Linked DNA regions of Homo sapiens: regions 2, 3 and 4 are each linked to region 1. Evidence: promoter capture Hi-C in 16 types of primary human blood cells and fetal thymus (Javierre and others, 2016). All regions are on one chromosome and are shown on one strand. Each heading gives the region's core, a stretch centred on a gene start or on the middle of the fragment in contact. The rest is flanking DNA. Distances are from core to core; before and after follow the strand shown. Region 1 holds the start of CYTL1 (cytokine like 1). Region 2 overlaps EVC (EvC ciliary complex subunit 1). Region 3 overlaps EVC (EvC ciliary complex subunit 1). Region 4 overlaps EVC (EvC ciliary complex subunit 1).

Evidence for each region. Contacts are between HindIII fragments. The CHiCAGO score rates a contact against its expected background, and 5 or more counts as called.
Region 2: a contact is called between a fragment that was not itself captured here and the fragment with the promoter of CYTL1 in region 1, in 5 of 17 cell types (M2 macrophages, megakaryocytes, monocytes and 2 more). The highest score is 12.8, in M2 macrophages.
Region 3: a contact is called between a fragment that was not itself captured here and the fragment with the promoter of CYTL1 in region 1, in 5 of 17 cell types (M2 macrophages, M0 macrophages, monocytes and 2 more). The highest score is 8.5, in M2 macrophages.
Region 4: a contact is called between a fragment that was not itself captured here and the fragment with the promoter of CYTL1 in region 1, in 1 of 17 cell types (monocytes). The highest score is 5.4, in monocytes.

Annotation. Positions count from the first base shown.
Region 1 is chr4:5,018,065-5,020,933 of GRCh38, reverse strand. It overlaps CYTL1 (cytokine like 1), which reads left to right and starts at 1,476. Exons shown (of 4, transcript NM_018659.3): 1 at 1,476-1,641. The coding sequence starts at 1,489. It also overlaps a transcript of STK32B not described here. The HindIII fragment of the contact is 2,032 bases long and covers 1-2,012 here.
Region 2 is chr4:5,808,312-5,811,180 of GRCh38, reverse strand. EVC (EvC ciliary complex subunit 1) reads right to left here. Exons shown (of 21, transcript NM_153717.3): 18 at 2,854-2,869; 19 at 1,570-1,663; 20 at 731-842; 21 at 1-228. The coding sequence ends at 144. Among named protein-coding and RNA genes, the nearest start is that of CRMP1, 83 kb to the left of the region's middle. The HindIII fragment of the contact is 3,963 bases long and covers 1-2,869 here.
Region 3 is chr4:5,784,592-5,787,460 of GRCh38, reverse strand. The region is part of intron 12 of EVC (EvC ciliary complex subunit 1); the gene reads right to left. Among named protein-coding and RNA genes, the nearest start is that of EVC, 75 kb to the right of the region's middle. The HindIII fragment of the contact is 4,182 bases long and covers 1-2,869 here.
Region 4 is chr4:5,737,368-5,740,236 of GRCh38, reverse strand. The region is part of intron 5 of EVC (EvC ciliary complex subunit 1); the gene reads right to left. Among named protein-coding and RNA genes, the nearest start is that of EVC, 28 kb to the right of the region's middle. The HindIII fragment of the contact is 2,520 bases long and covers 210-2,729 here.

The DNA of each region.
Region 1 (2,869 bases), core at 227-2,726:
ACATAGCTCCAGGGCTCCACTGCTCTTCCCAGCTTCACATCCCCCGAGGCCCTCAGTTTCCTCGCCTGGGAATTGGGAATAACCCCATTCACTTCATTGGCTGGCTGTGAGGGTCATAGCGTTCCCAATGGCAGCTGGCCTGGTGGCTGCTGGTATGTAAGTCATGTTCAGTGTTAAGGAAGAATCTTCTCCCTTTTGACAGTTCCTTCTTGCTTGTTGCCTGATCTTGGGCAGCCTGAGGACCCCAACTCATCTCTGCCTGCAAGAGTCCTGCTCCTCACCCATCCTGCCCTGTGGGATGGAAGAATGGCAGGAGGACAGGGCCTGAAGTCTCATCCCAACCCATGTGCCTCCAGCTTTGTGACCTCCAGCAAGTTGCTGGAACTCTTGAGCCTCAGTTTTCCCACCTGGAAAATGGGACTCTTTTCTGTGGCACCTACCTCACAGAGACAATTGCTGGATTTAACAGAGACAGTGCTATTAGCTCCGATCACTTGGAAACACACAATGGGCCTGGCATGAGGCTTGCTCAGTCATGCTATATCCTGTTGATTCCTCACTATGGCCTTTTGAGTGAGCCACTCTCACCAGCCTCATCTCACAGATAAGGAGATGGAGGAAACACTGAAGAAACTTGCCCAAGGTCAAAGCCAGAAGGCGGTGACCCTGCTTTGCACCCACGGCGTCTAAGTGGAGAGCCTAGACCTTTACCTGCCACTGTCTTGGGAAGTTAGCCCTGAGGGAGATGCACTTCTTGAAAACTAACCCTTCCTGAGGGTCTGCTCTCCCTCGGGGCCTGTGCTGGGAGCTTGAGGTAGAAGAGGGTGGGGGTACTCACACTCCCCACACATACGGCCGCTCAGTGAGCCCATCCTCCGGACCGAGAGACACACACGGCTTCTGAGAGGCTGGGGGCCCTGGCCCAAGGCTCACCTACCTGGTTAGCGATTGATGGACGAGGACACCGGTGGCCTGACCGCAGCTCTGCATCCCTGCTCCACTGCGGGCTGCCTGGAGGGAGGGATGCTCAGTCATCCCCTGCTAGTCCCTTTCCCTCCTGGCACTATATCCATTTTGACAAACCGTGCCATCCAAACCCAGGCCTGACTGCCCACTCCTCTCCTCTGACCCTCCCCTCCTTCCATCTCTGTCCTCCTCTTATCCCCCACCCCTCTCCATCTGCTGTTCCTGCCTTTTCAGGAAAAGTCCCTGTGCAGAAAGAAATTTCTTGCTGAAAGTGTGGGGGAGGCAAAGCCACCCTCTGTCACCCCCTCCTCCAGGCAGCCCCTCCTCTTAACCTGGGGCTTTCGTGTCTGAGAGGATTCCTGTCCCGACCCTGCCCGGTGGGCGTGCTGGCTTCCTCTCTGCCACCCTGGATGGACCGCAGCCTGCGCTGGCCCCACAGGAAGTGGAGGCGTGGAGCCGCCCTGGACCACCCCCAGCCTGCATAAAGGGGCGGTCGGCGAGGCTGCACCAGCGCCTGGCACCATGAGGACGCCTGGGCCTCTGCCCGTGCTGCTGCTGCTCCTGGCGGGAGCCCCCGCCGCGCGGCCCACTCCCCCGACCTGCTACTCCCGCATGCGGGCCCTGAGCCAGGAGATCACCCGCGACTTCAACCTCCTGCAGGTCTCGGAGCCCTCGGTGAGTCCCCCGCCCGCTCAGGACAGGGGTGCATGGCAGACCCAGTTCTTAAACCCTTGCCTTTACACGAAAAAAAAAAGAGAGAGAGAGAGAAAAGGATATTTTTCTTTTCTAGTAAATGTAAATCTCAGGAGTATTTGTGTTTTATTCATCTCCTTTTAAATATGATACCAATGGTTTGCTTTCTTCAAAACACAAGAAAAAGTAAAGACAACACAATTTTTGTGACTTACTAGCAAATATCAAAGGATCTGTTGTAAAATGTAAAAAAAAAAAAAAAAAAAAAAAAGAAAAAAGAAAAAAAAAGGAGTGGGAGGATGGGGAGAAAAACAGCTCCCCATCAGAGTTAAGGAGGACGGAGGAATGAAGCTTGTGTATTGCTTTTGTTAGCCTAGTGAGGAGTGTGCCCTAAGAGGTGGCTCACAGAACTGGCCTCCGCCCCTCATCTGCTGAGGGACCCGGGCAAATTTCTCAGCCTCTGCCTTTCAGTTTTCTTGTCTGTAAAATGGGATGACAGTAGCACCCCTCCCTTTAGAGTGGCTTTGACGATCAAAGGCAGGTGTGAACACAGGCAGGGCTCACAGAGCCAAGCCTACAGGAACAAGTACTCAACAGATGCCAGCTGATGTGAGCACGATCTTCAGAGGCAGATCTGGGGACTCAGAGAGGGGAAGACCCGGGAGGGCTTTTGGGGACTAGAACCCAGGCCTCTGCCTGCTTCTCCGTCGAAACAAAATGCATTAAACTTCATTAAAAGCTTTTGTAAAGTTTCAAAGTGTCTTTTAATCACTTGCAAATGCTTCAAACAAAACATAATGTTTCTCAGATGTTGGGGTTTACAAAAGCCTAGCTAACACCTTCTTGGTATTTTCTTTTTAAAAGTTAAATAACATGTATTTTTTCCCTAATTATAAAAGTATTGTACTTTGTAGAACAGTTGGAAAATAAAGTACAAAGAAGAAAAAAAATCTTGCTTGTAATTCTACCACCTAGAGGTAGCTGCTGCCGTAGCATTGTGGAGGATCATATTTCAGCTTTCTGTCTACATATAGGTATTCAAATACGTGTGTGTTGTGTGTGTGTGTGTGTGTAAACAAAATTTGGGTCAAACAGCACAAGCAGTTTTGCAACTTACTTTTTAATGACACTATCAAATAAGTTCATTTTTGTTTTAACATTTTGTTGTACAGTTTCACCACAATTTACCCACAAGTTTCTTGTTATCGAA
Region 2 (2,869 bases), core at 249-2,748, 790 kb before region 1:
TATTCTTTCTCTGTCCCTCTCAGAAGAGCCTAGAGATGCCGCTGTCCTCTCCGTCCTCGCTGCCTCTCAGCACTGCAGGAGGGAAGGTGGAATTCACACCCAGACCCAGGGCTTCAGGTCTTGTCCCACCGACTGGTCTTAAACTACAAGTTGCTTCTTCTCTTTAGCATCTTCTTTGAGTTCCCACTGTCCCCAGCTTCACTTTCTTGCTGACTCAGCCTTTTGCTGCTTAAAACAGAGAAGAAAGGCAGCCAGTTAGAACGCTGACTCCATGCCCATCATGATGCCATAACTTACCCAATCGGATTAAATGAAAATGCAGCCAAAGGTGATCAAAACAATTTTTACTTTGACATGGGTTGTTAAGAAACCAATAAAACCCGTTTCCCTCCTTGGGTAGGAGGTCATCCAAGTGCCATGACCACAGCCATCCCTGGTCAAAGAAGGGACTGCCCAACACTTCAGGCTGGATGCCAATGGGGTGTGGAGGTAGGTCAAGGCTCATCTGGCCAAATGAGACACAAACAGGAAGGGTAACAGCCATGTGGCACCCCTGGTATCATCATGGCTTACTGCCCACAAATTACGTTCATATCTGTCATTTCTTGAACCTTCACATTTAATGCCTCTGAGGGGACTGATGATTTTCCTGCCCTGACTTTTGGCACACAGCAGCTGAGTGCATTTACCAAACCCAGCCACAGGCAACAGGTCCGGGGCCCAGTCATACCTGAGTGAGCCTGAGGTCTGGTCCCCGGAGGCAAGGTCCTCATTGTTGGGCACCCCCAGGTCCCCTCTTTCCTGGGGCAGGGGCTTCTTCCTTTTAGTCCTTAGGGGCTTCTCTGTAGAGGACAGATGAACCCAGGCATGGCTCTGTGACTTTAGACAAGTGACAACTTCTTGCAGCCTCACACCAACCCAGCCTGACATTTTTGAGCATGTTGTGTGGGCCAAGTGTATGCTTGGTATCTTATGCTATTGCAGCCACTCAACTAATGAGGAAACTGAGGCCTGGGAAGGTGACGTACTCTCCCAAGCCTGCACAAGCCAGGAAGTGGCAGAGCTGTGGCTTGAGCTCCAGTCTGCTAGGCTCCCGCTGGGTATCCACTCTACCCAGCTGACTGGAAGACTTAATGAAGCAGCAAGCAACTGAAAACCCAGCACCAGTGTGACAGCTTTTGTTTCAGTAGATCTCTGTGTTCTCACACCACCTTCTGAGTCACTCTCTCATTACCAGGTTAAAAAATCCTGTGATGTCACTGAAGTTGTCGCTGGCAAGGGTGGGAGGAGGGCTTATCCCCACTTTACAGATGGAAAAATGGAGTCAGTTAGGAGACACAGCCAGTGAACACCAGACCCAAGAACTGGAATTATCAAATGCTAGAGAGCAAGTGGGCCTGAGGGGTGGCCTAGCCAAGCCTGCTCATTTACAGACAAGGTCACAAAAGCCCAGAGAGCCTAGGCACGATGCCTAAGGTCACACAGCTAGTTAGTGGCCAGTGTGGAACTAGAATCCGTATCTCTCAGCCCAGAGTGCTTCCCGCTGCAACTCAAGCATCTGTGACTCACCTAGCAGCCCACGCTTAGCAGGCAACAGTTTGCTTTCAGCAAGGGGCACTCGGGCCAAGGCTGCCAGCTCGGAGATGAAGTTCTGTTCAGCTTCCTGAAATGCAAGCAGAGAGGAGCATTCAGCTGGGCCTCCCTCTGACTTCTCTAAATCCCTCTCCACGTGAGTGAATTCTGACACTTGAGGCTGGCCACTGAAGACCACGTCTCCCGTGTGGAGGAGAATTTTCCAACATACATCCCAGAGAGGAGAGGAGCAGGAGGACACACTGGCATCTACCAGCTCCTGCTGCATAACTGTGGGTCCTCACTCACACTGGCCGTCGGTCTTCAGTTGACAGAGTACACTGAGGTCAGAGGGCCTCAGTGACCTGCCCGGAGCAGGTGCAGCAGAATAGGATGGGACTCACTTCTGCCCGACTCCACAGGCTGGGCTCTAAACTTCCAACACTGTGGTGTAAACAAACACACCAGAATTCCATGATGCATTAACTGTGTGACCCTGGATAGCAACGTAACCTGTGCATGCCTCAGTTTGTCCATCTGTAATGGGGACAGTAGCAGTAACCTCTTTTGTTGGAAAGTGTGTGCAAAGCTCTCAGCTCATGACTATCTATCATAGACCCTCAATAAGTACCTATCGGCCACCACTGCTGTATTCTTACCACTGTCACTCTGCGACTGCCATCGCCAGTGGAGAACACTCTGAAAGGGCCAACACTCTGCTAAATGCTTCCATTCTGGAAGATTTGATTTTTTTAAAGGCAGCCACTTTGCTTAGCCACACTTTATACTCTCACCTTACATCTCACTGTATAACCTCACACAAATGGGATTTTCTGTAATGAAATATGCACTTTATATCATGAGAGCTGAGCTTCCTGTTTGCTGTAAATAAAGTGTAAACTTTAGCTATCGCCAACACTGCCTGAGTGACACAGAGGTCACCATTACACCGGAAGCCTCCTGGTGGCCATGCGCACACAGGGGAATGCTCAATTCTCTGTCAGCTCCATAGATGAGGCCTGACCAGCTGCTCAGGGCCTGGCCCTGCTTAGCATGCTGCAGCTGCTGTAGGGATCCACACAGGCCACACTTGCCCTCCAGGGGCTCAGGGTCCTAAGGCGAGGCCGACACACCCTCAGCAGGTGAGACTCAGCGGGTCAACGATGCCACAGGCAGGGAAGTGCAGTCCCCATGGCTGACGTGTGGTCACAGGCTGGCTTCAGCTATTTCTGCTCCTCTTTAAACCACTGCTTTTGGAAGGTCCAGTTCTGTAACTTGTACCTGTAGCTGGGTCTCC
Region 3 (2,869 bases), core at 116-2,615, 770 kb before region 1:
TGCAGAGTCTTCCTCACTCCTCACTCTGGCACTGCTGCTCCTTTTTCACTTATAAGGACCCTTGTGATAACATGGGGCCAAGCCAGATCATCGGGAGAATATCCCCATCTCACGATCCTTTGCTTAATCACATTCGCAAAGATTTGCAAAGTCCTTTTTGCCTTGTAACCAGACATATTCACGGGTTTTAGGGATTAGGATGTGGGCCTCTCTGGGGGGCCATTATAGCTGCCTACCGCAAGGGGACTGAGAGCAGAAATCTGCATTAGAGCAGATTAAATTTTGAGAAACACCATTCTACAACCTGTTCTAACGGGGTAATTCACAAATTCCATTAATTTTTAATAACTTCCCTGAGCAATGGGATATGAAACGACCCACTGTCTTTTTGGATAGAAAACAATGTGGGAAAGGCAATTTGTAGTCGATGTGTTTTTGATTTTCCATGAATAGCTTCGCTGGTGCTTTTCTTCTCATGACTAATATTCATCTGAATGACAGAGAGCTCATTTCTCTTTTTTTCATCAATGAGGAAATATGGCAGGTGGATCTCTAACTATCGTGTGTTAATTTTTTTTTTTTTTTTTTTGAGACGGAGTCTCGCTCTGTCACCCAGGCTGGAGTTCAGTGGCGTGATCTCGGCTCACTGCAAGCTCTGCCTCCCGGGTTCACGCCATTCTCCTGCCTCAGCCTCCCGAGTAGCTGGGACTACAGGCACCTGTCATCACACTTGGCTAATTTTTGTATTTTTAGTAGAGACGGGGTTTCACCATGTTAGCCAGGATGGTCTCGATCTCCTGACCTCATGATCCGCCCGTCTTGGCCTCCCAAAGTGCTGGGATTATAGGCGTGAGCCACCGCACCCGGCTATCATGTGTTAATTTAAGGCAGTTAAGTAATCAGTAAATTAACTGTGACATAGACACCTTGAGAAAACAGTCTTGGGTCATACTTATGTAATCAGCTGATGAGGTCATTAACTCTCCTGCTTGCTTCCTGCATGCAAAACTCAACCAGAAACCTTCCCCACATGCCAAGAAAAATTCACAATCGTATGCTCACAAAGTAAACAAATAAAACATTCAAAACAGAGCTGAGCATAGTCTATTTGCCTAAAATAACTTAAGACTCCTAACCAGAGAGTTTTAGATGAATCACAGGTGTTTTGTCAGAAATGAAATTCTGGATTCCTTCACTATCAATACCATTAAATGATTCAACAGATATTGTGCAAAAGGTCTTAACTTGCATTATCTGAATGGAATCATTTGGATATTGTGACCCTTAGTTTTCACATAGAAGGTGTAGTTCTGAGGCATTTTTAGCAAGTTGTGTAAAATCACAGAGTTGCAAGAGGTCAGCTCACTGGCTAAAGTCACACAGCCCATTAATGTGTCTGCTCTGGCTCAAACCCATATCTTAGGCTTCTGAGGTTAGGGGCCTGGCTGCAAAACCACAATGGTCTCTAAAAGGCCCCTACACTCATTTAGTGGGTCCACTTCAGAGGCCCATTAGGCTCACCTGGTTTCTGAGACACTGAGGCCCAGGTCCTCCTCCCTCCCCAAAGACTGTAAATGAATTGGTCTGCGGCCTAGGATTTGGAATGAATAGGAAGAATTCAGCTTCATTTAGATCCCTTCGAAGAATACAGGGCAAAGGCAACACTGTAATCATTTCCAAAGCTGCATTATTGTTGCTGGAAATGCTACAAGTTTTCCTGAACATTTACCATATTGCAGCCACTGGGCTTTGAATAGGTGGTGTCAAGATGAAAATCAGGGTTGCCGTCCTCAAGGAACTCATAGCCAAATGCAGGAGACAGACAAGTCACCTACGACAGGGCAACCGGATGCCACTGACAGAGGACTGAATGAACTAGAAGGAGGTCTAAGAATTCATTCGGGCAGGCAACTAGGCCCTGTGCCTGTCCCCACAGCTGTGAGTGGTCATGTGTTTGCATAACGCTCTCCTCTATCTACTTTGTACTTTCTATTGCCCCAAGGAATTGTTTTAGGAAACCTCTTTCAGATGGATGCATCAGTCACACTGGTCTTTTGTAACTAATCGCAAACCCAACTTAAAGAAACAGGGCTTGTTTCTGACAATAAGCATGTAGGGGCAGGCGGTTCAGGGCTGCGGTAATGGCTTAACAGCACTGCCAGGGGCTCAGGGCTGTCTGAGACTGCTCCACCATCTGGAGCCCACCAGGCTCACGCAGGCTGCCTCTAGGGCAGAGAAAGGCTGATGCACCTCCAGGCCTCCCATGCGTTCTAAGAAGGAAGAATGGGACACTGAAGAAGGGGGCTGCTCCAAGCAAAACCGGCTCTGGTATCAGGAAACAGAAGCCCTTTGCTTTGTTTCAAAGGCCAGAGCAGTGTCACTCAGCCATGGCTAGTTGCAAGGGATATGGATATTGAGGATGTTAGTTTCACAGCCTCTAGAGGGCCGAAGGCAGGGGAGAAAGGACTGGTGGGCTGTCTTGGTGGATGTTGAATTTGGAAATGCCTTCTTTAATTTAACAGTTTTTAATTTTTTAAAGATAAAATCAATCTGGGCTGGGCACAGTGGCTCATGCCTGTAATCCCAGCACTTCGGGAGGCTAAGGCGGGCAGATCACTTGAGTTCAGGAGTTTGAGATCAGCTTGGCCACCATGATGAAACCCCTTCTCTACTAAAAATACAAAAATTAGCCAGGCGTGGTGGCACGTGCCTGTAATCCCAGCTACTTGGGAGGCTGAGGCAGGAGAATCGCTTGAACCTGGGAGGCGGAGGTTGCAGTGAGCCAAGATCGCACCATTGCACTCCAGCCTGGACAGAGCAAGATTCCATTCCAAAAAAAAAAAAAAAAAAAAAATCAATGTGTATTGTA
Region 4 (2,869 bases), core at 220-2,719, 720 kb before region 1:
AGCCTCCCAAAGTGCTGGGATTATAGGCGTGAGCCAACCATGCCTGGCAATATTTTTTCTAAAAGATTTATAGTTTACTGTTTACATTTAAGTATGTGATCCCTTTTGAATTAATTTTTGTATAAGGTGTGAAGTTTAGGTTGAGGTTCTTTTGTCGTTGTTATTGTTTATGGATGTCCAATTGCTCCAGTACCATTTATTGAAAAGCTTATCATTCCTCCATTGAAGTGCTTTTGCCTCTTTGTCAAAGGTCATTTAGATATAATATGGTCATTTAGATATAATAAGGCATTTTCTTTTTCTTTGGTGAACCGGTAAGGCTTTTTTTTTTTTTTTTGAGATGGGGTTTCTCTGTGTTGCCCAGGCTGGTCTCGAACTCCTGAACTCATGCAACCTGCCTGCCTCCACCTCCCAAAGTGCTGGGATTATAGGCATGAGTCACTGCATCCCGCCTGGTAAGGCATTTTTAAATGCAGGGGTTAGCAAACTTTTTCAGTAAAGGGTGAAACAGCAAATTTTTTTTGGCTTTGCAGGCCATATGATCTCTTTTGCAACTACTCAGTTCTGCGGTTGTGGCATATGCCACACAGGCATACAGGCAATATGGAAAAGAAGGACATGGCCAGATTTGGCTCAAGGGCCACAGTTTTTGATCCTTCTTTTAATGGATTAAGGCTTGTTAATCACTCTTCTGGGCCAGCCTAATGTATGTATTATACATACTATCACTTGATCTCCATGGCATGCGGGGAGGTTGGTACCATCTTCCGCATTTTACAGATGAGAAAATGCCCAGCAACTTGCAGGGGCCACTTGCCTCCTGCCACACAGCCACATGCGACAGAGCTGAGATTTGAACCCAGAATTCTGCCCACCAACCTTCATTATATTTGCCAATGACAATGAGCTCTAAGGAGAAAGTGGTGTCCTGGCTTTCTACTCACTGAAGACTGATATGGTATAAGATATAATAACATTATTTTTGCAAGATGTTAGTTTCGAGTCTACTTTCTTCCTGACCCCAAATAAATCAGTAATGTTTACAGCCCTCATCCTCTCCCTTTCCATAGTGCCAACTTTGAGATAGTTATAGATTCAAATGAAGGTACAAAAATAATACAAGCATACCATGGAGGTATTGTAGGGTTGATTTCAGGCCACCTCAGTAAGGTGAATATCACAATAAAGCAAGCCGCACACATTTTTTGGTTTTCTAGTGCATATAAAAGCTATGTTTACACTATACTGTAGTCTAAGTGTACAATAGCAGTATGTCTAAAAAAGTACATACCTTAATTTTAAAAATAACTTCTTCCTAAAAAATGCTAATGATCATCTGAGCCTAAGATGATTATTAAAAAAAAGTTGTTGGGCTGGGTGCGGTGGCTCACACCCGTAATCCCAGCACTTTGGGAGGCGGAGGCAGGTGGATCACAAGGTCAAGAGATTGAGACCCATCCTGGCCAACATGGTGAAACCCCGTCTCTACTAAAAATGCAAAAATTGTCTGGGCGAGGTGGTGCGCGCCTGTGGTCCCAGCTGCTCGGGAGGCTGAGGCGGGAGAATCACTTGAATCTGGGAGGCAAAGTTTGCAGTGAGTTGAGATCTCCGTCTTAAAAAAAAAAAAAAAGTTGTAATCTTTTAGCTGGTGGAGGGTCTTGTCTCAATGTTGATGGCTACTGACTTATGAGGGTAGTGGTTGCTGAAGGTTAGGGTGGCTGTGGCAGTTTCTTAAAATAAGACCACTCTGAAGTGGGCCACATCAGCTGACTCTTCCTTTCACAAAAGATTTCTCTGCAGCGTGCCATGCTATTCGATAGCAATTTGCCCACAGTAGAACTTTAAAACTTGGAGTCAATCCTCTCAAACCCTGCAGCTGCTTTATCAAATAAGTTTACATAGTATTCTAAATCCTTTTTGTCATTTCAACAATGTTCACAGCATCTTCACCAGAAGCAGATTCCTTCTCTAGAAACCACTTTCATTGCTCATCCATCAGAAGCAGCTCCTCATCCAGTCATGTTTCATCATGAGATTGCAGCAGCTCAGTCCCATCTTCAGGCTCCAATTCTAATCCTAGTTTTCTTGCTATTTCCACATTTCCAATGACTTCCTCCACTGAAGTTCTGAATCCCCTCAAAGTCATTCATGAGGATTGAAATCAACCTCTTCCAAACTCTTGTTAATGTTGATATTTTGACCTCCTCCTATGAATCATGAATATTCTCAATGGCATCTAGAATGGTGAATCCTTTCCAGAAGGTTTTCAATTTACATTGTTCAAATCCTTCAGAGGAATCACTATGTATGGCAGTTAGAGCCTTAGGAAATGTATTTCTTAAATAATAAGACTTGAAAGTTGAAATTACTCTTTAATCAATAGGCTCAGAATGAATGTTGTGTTAGCAGGCATGAAAATGACATTAACTTCCTTGTACATCTTCATCAGAGCTCTCGGGTGACCAGGGGTTTTGAAAATGACCAGTAACATTTTGAAAAGAAGTTTATTTTCTGGGCAGTAGGTGTCAATAGTGGGCTTAAACTATGCTATAAACAGCTGTGTTGTGATCCAGGCTTTGTTGTTCCACTTATAGAGCACAGGCAGAGTAGATTTAGCATCACCCTTAAGGGCCCTAGGACTTTCGGAGTGGTGCATGAGCACTGGCTTCAACTTAAAGTCATCTCCCGCATTAGCCCCTAGCGAGAGAGTCAGCCTGTTCTTTGAAGCTTTGAAGCCAGGTATTGACTTCTCCTCTTTAGCTATGAAGTCTTAGATGGCATCTTCTTCCATGACCATATTGTGCTATTTCATCTGCATTGAAAATCTGTTGTTTAGTGCAGCCACCTTGCTCAATGGTCTTAGCTAGAT